Linked DNA regions of Homo sapiens: region 1 is linked to region 2. Evidence: promoter capture Hi-C in 16 types of primary human blood cells and fetal thymus (Javierre and others, 2016). All regions are on one chromosome and are shown on one strand. Each heading gives the region's core, a stretch centred on a gene start or on the middle of the fragment in contact. The rest is flanking DNA. Distances are from core to core; before and after follow the strand shown. Region 1 overlaps GBP7 (guanylate binding protein 7). Region 2 holds the start of GBP7 (guanylate binding protein 7).

Region 1 (2,700 bases), core at 37-2,536, 38 kb after region 2:
TTTTCAGATGCATAGTTTGCAGATATTTTCTCCCATTCTGTAGGTTGTCTGTTTACTCTGTTTATAGTTTCCTTTGTTGTGCATGAACTCTTTAGTTGAATTAGGTCCCTCTTGTTAACTTTTTGTTCGGTTGCAGTGGCTTTTGAAGTTTTCATCAGGAAATCTTTGCCAGTGCCTATGTCCAGAATGGTATTTCCTAGGTTTTCTTTTGGTGGTTTTATAGTTTTAAATTTTACATTTACATCTTTAACTCATCTTGAGTTGATTTTTGTATATAGTGAGAAGAAGGGGTCCAGTTTCAATCTTCTGCATATAGCTAGCCAGTTAACCCAGCACCATTTATTGAATAATGCATTCTTTCTCCATTGCTTTTTTTGTTAGCTTTACCAAAGATCAGATAGTTGTAGGTGTGTGGTATTATTTCTGCTTTCTTTAAACTTTTCCATTTGTTCATGTGTCTGTTTTGTTTTGTTTTGTTTTTTGACCAGCACCATGCTATTTTGGTTATTGTAGTCTTGTAATATAGTTTAAACTCAAGTCATGTGATGTCTCTGGCTTTGTTCTTTTTGCTTAGGAGTGCCTTGGCTACTCGGGGTTTTTTTGTTGTTGTTGTTCCATGTGGATGTTAGAATAGTTTTTACTAATTCTATTTTTAAAAAGTCATCGATAATTTGATAGGAATAGCATTGAATATGTAAATCAATTTGGGCAGTATGGCTATTTTAACAACATTGATTCTTCCTATCCATATGCATGAAATAATTTTCCATTTGTTTGTGCAGTCTCAGATTTCTTTCAGCAGTGTTTTATAATTCTCATTGTAGAGATGCTTCACCTCCCTGATTGGCTGTAAACCTAGGTATTTTATTCTTGGTTATTCACAATAGCTATTGTGAATAGGATTGTGTTCTCGGTTTGACTTTCAGCTTGGACATTATTGGTGTGTAGAAATGCTACTTATTTTTGTACATTTACTTTTTTATCCTGAAACTTTGCTGATGTTTATCAGATGGATGAGACTTTGGGCAGAAATTATGGAGTTTTCTAACTACAGAATTCTATTGTCTATGAAGAGAGAGAGTTTGACTTCCTCTCTTCCTATTGGATAACTTTTTTTTTCCCCTTTGCCTGATTTCTCTGGCTAGGACTTCCAGTACTATGTTGAATAAGAGTTGTTGAGAGTGGGCATCCTTGTCTGTTTTTGGTTCTCAAGTGAAATGTTTCCAGCTTTTTCACATTCAGTATGATGTTGGCTGTGGGTTTTTCATAGATGGCTTTTATTATTTTGAGGTATGTTCCTTTGAGGCCCAGTTTGTTGAGATATTTTAACATGAAATATTGAATTTTATCAAAAGCCTTTTCTGTGCCCATTGAGAAGATCATCTGGTTTTTGTTCTGAGTCCCGTTTGTGTGAGGAATCAATTTATTATTAGCATATGCTGAATCAACCTTGCATTCCAGGAATAAAGCCTAATTGACAGTGGTGGGTTCGCTTTTTAATGTGCTGCTGGATTTGGTTTGCTAGTATTTTGTTGAAGATTTTTTCATCCATGTTCATCAGGAATATTGTCCTGCATTTTTCTTTTTTTGTTGTGTCTCTGCCAGGTTTTTAAAATCAGAATGATGCTGGCCTCATAGAATGTATTAGGAAAGATTCCCTGCTCCCCATTTTTTTTGGAATAGTTTAGTAGAATTGGTACCAGCTCTTCTTTCTATGTATGGCAGAACTGACTATGACTCTGTCTGGTCTAGGGCTTTTTCTGCTTGGTAGGCTTTTTAATGCTGACCCAATTTTGGAACTTGTTATTAGTCTGTTCCAGGTTTCAATTTCTTCCTGGTTCACTTTTGGTAGGTTGTATGTTTCCAGGAATTTATCCATTTCTTCTAGGTTTCTTAGTTAGTGTGCATAGTGGTGTTCATAATAGTCTCTCAGGATTTTTTGTATTTCTGTGGAGTTGATAGCAATGTCCCTTTTGCCATTTTTTTATTGTGTTTATTTGGATCTTCTCTTTTTTTGTTCTTTTTTAGTCTAACTAGAAGTATATCCATCTTATGTATTTTTCCAGAGAACCATTGGTTTCATTGATCTTTTGTATGGTTTTTCTTGTCTCCACTTTATTCACTTCAAGTCTGATTTTGGTTATTTCTTGTCTCAGCTAGCTTTGTGCTTGGTTCACTTTTGTTTTTCTAGTTCCTCAAGGTGTAATGTTAGATTGTTAATTTGAGATATTTCTAACTTTCTACTGTAGTCGTTTAGTGCTATTAACATTCCTCTTAACACTGCTCTAGTTGTGTCTCAAAGATTCTGGTAGGTTGTATCTTTGTTTTCATTAATTTCAAATAATTTATTTCTGCCTTAAATTCACTGTTTACCCCAAAATCATTCAGAAGCAGATTAATTAATTTTCATGTAATTGTATAGCTTTGAGAGATATTCTTTGTATTGATTTCTATTTTTACAGCATTGTGGTCTGACAGCATTGGTATGATTTGGGTTTTTTTTTTATTTGTTGAGAATTGCTTTATGGCAGAGCAAGGAGTCAATTTTAGAGTATGTGCCATGTGCAGATGAGATGAATGTATATTCTGTTATTGTTGGGTGGAGTGTTCTGTAGATGTCTGTTAGGTCCATCTGGTCAAATGTCAAGTTAGGTCCTGAATATCTTCGTTAGTTTTTTGCCTCAATGATCTGTCTAATAT
Region 2 (2,700 bases), core at 173-2,672:
CTAGCTACTCAGGAGGCTGAGACAGGAGAATCGCTTGAACCCAGGAGGTGGAGGTTGCAGTGAGCGAAGATTGTACCATTGCACTCCAGCCTGGGCAACAAGAGAGAAACTCTGTCTCAAAAAAAAAAAACACAAGTTGGGAAAGTGGGATCTTTTTTTCTTATAAATTTATGTACCCTTAAATTATACATGATTCACAAAGATTCAATTTTGCCTGGGGCTATTTTTTGTTTGCATGATATAAACAATAGATTTTATTACTTAGAAGCAGGTGATTTCCTAGCAATAGTTCTGTTTTGAAATAACCCTGCCTTACTTTCACTTTAAATCTCATCAATATTCACACACACACAGAGAAGTCTTACTCTCTGCTCTCCATTTCTCTCTCTCTCTTCCCCGCTTCCCACCTTCCTCTCTTTTAGAGACAATGTGCAGTAGAGAATCAATGTGGTTTTAACCAAATGGATTTTCAAGTTTGAATCTCGCTCAATTACTTGCTACCTTGGTGTGTAGCTCAATGGCTTTAGTTAGACATATTAATTACCCGTTTTCTGATTATTTTTCCCCCTTGGACAATGGGGATAATAAACAACCTTTATCTTGAGGTATTTTGATATTTAAAATGGTATGTGTAAAGAATATGGCCTAGAATGGAACTGATAAGGAGAAAACATTGTTATTGTACACTCAGCAAACACAGAGGTATTTTAATGAAGTGACTGACAGCAAGACTTCTTGGGCCCAAATCTTATTTAGTAGCTCTGTAATTGTAATAAATTATTAAATCCCTCTTTTAACATTGTGGTAAAAGTATTTGTGATAAGAATACAATGGGATAATCTATGTAAACAAAACGGGTACTATCTTCATTATTATTTATTAAATGTTAAGTGCCAAGACCTGAGTTAGGTGCTAATAATTCAAACATGTATAAGACGTGGACATTCCTTCAGGGCATTTAGAGTCCTCATTATTAAACACAAATAATGAGTTCCATTTTAAGAGTCTAATATTCAAGCCAATTGAACCTAAATAATATTATATTAAGCTTTCTTATTCCTGTACTTCTCAATGTGGCCCACAAACATGAGATGAATGTCATTATTTTAAACGATTCATTGAAGTTTTTTTAATAATCGCAAGCTGTCTCTAAGATCTCTTCCAATAATAAAATTGGAAGATTCTGTTTGAGAAATTATGTCAAATCCTCTCACTAGCACAGCTGTCAGCAATTTCTTTTATTGTTGCTAAATCATGGACTGTCATATTACTCTATTTATTTGCAGAGGTTGCATTGTTTTTTACATGTATAAATACAGGTCTCTAGAAAGTCTGGAAAGCCCCATGACATTGGAGAGGTAAGGTAAAAGTCCAAAGTTCCAGCAAGAAAAAAAGTGGGAGAAATCAGTGCAGCCAAATTCAGAACTAAAGAGAAGAGAATAAAGACTCATAACTTTCTCATTGAAGCTGCCTTCTTACCAAGTCCAGAGGATCTCTACTCTGGGTAAGACTATGACTTATAAGGATTTCATGATTTATAAGGATCCATTAGTTTTCTCTAAGTTGACCATCCCCAAGATAGGCTGCAGCTGAGCCAGCTACAGGATACAAGTCCAGATGAAATCCTGGCCTCTTAGGTGGCTGTGTGTACCTTAGTGTGCTCTAATTCCTGCTGTGTCAGATTAGGCTTCAGCAGAGGTGGAACAGATATTCAGAGAAGCCAGTGTTCTAAGATTGTTATTTCTTTTCTGACACCATCTTAAATTACTGTTATCTTTAAATATCTGCCTAATAGGCTCTGTCACTTTCTTTATTGGGCCCAACATTTATAGCTCTAGGTAAATGAAGGTAGGCAACTTGGGATCTGCAAAAAGAGGCAACACATTATTATAATCCAGGACCTTATAACATCTTTGTGCCACCACCTTTCTGAGCCGGTGACTGATTGATTCCTATGTTATGGTAGCATAGTATATGCTACAGAATTGGACAGACGCATACTCTGTTTTCACTCATCTTCCATAGATACCCAATCTTTTTAGTTTCTGGTTTGCCCTTCTTGCTTGCCAGCAGATCCTGTAGGCCATTGCTATAAGAGGAAATGGGTCATGATCACAGAAAAATAAACGGCTTTTTTTCCATCTTCTGCTGAAGTGATGGGAAGCCAGATAATTTAATATAAACCTCCAGAGGAACAAGTCAGAAGTAACCAACTCTATAGTGGAAACAAACCACTCTTTATTATAGGATAAAAAAGAAAACTGCAGTATCTATCATCTATATTTGCTTGTATCTTAAAGAGATTATATATTTTGTATCATGATCACATAAGTTACAAGGATTGAGACATTCAACTTAAAAACACAAAATTAAAGCATCACTACAAGAAGGCTTTTCACTCCTTTTAACTTTACAAAATTATCAAAATATTTAATTTATCAAGCCCTGGATAAAGATAGCATGATTACAATTGTGCATATGCTACTCTCTATACAGCAGAGATCAGACAAAAAACAAGCCATGGTTTTTCAAAGAATGTTTCATGCTGTGACTTCATTACATGAAATAATTAAAAACAATATGCAGACTGATATACATGGAGGTAATAAAGAATCAATCTTCAAATGCAGAGAATTCAAAATCTGTTAACATAATCAAGTCAAAAATCAACAGAGTAAGTGTCAGGTGCGAGCTATCAGG

Evidence for each region. The method cuts DNA at HindIII sites, captures the fragments that hold promoters and counts their contacts. A CHiCAGO score of 5 or more calls a contact.
Region 1: a contact is called between a fragment that was not itself captured here and the fragment with the promoter of GBP7 in region 2, in 1 of 17 cell types (activated CD4 T cells). The highest score is 8.3, in activated CD4 T cells.

What each region holds. Positions count from the first base shown.
Region 1 is chr1:89,136,239-89,138,938 of GRCh38, reverse strand. All of the region lies in intron 9 of GBP7 (guanylate binding protein 7), which reads left to right. The region is part of intron 1 of LOC105378842 (a long non-coding RNA gene); the gene reads right to left. Among named protein-coding and RNA genes, the nearest start is that of GBP2, 11 kb to the right of the region's middle. The HindIII fragment of the contact is 8,826 bases long and covers 1-2,700 here.
Region 2 is chr1:89,174,725-89,177,424 of GRCh38, reverse strand. GBP7 (guanylate binding protein 7) reads left to right here and starts at 1,422. Exons shown (of 11, transcript NM_207398.3): 1 at 1,422-1,504. The region is part of intron 3 of LOC105378842 (a long non-coding RNA gene); the gene reads right to left. The HindIII fragment of the contact is 1,918 bases long and covers 1,051-2,700 here.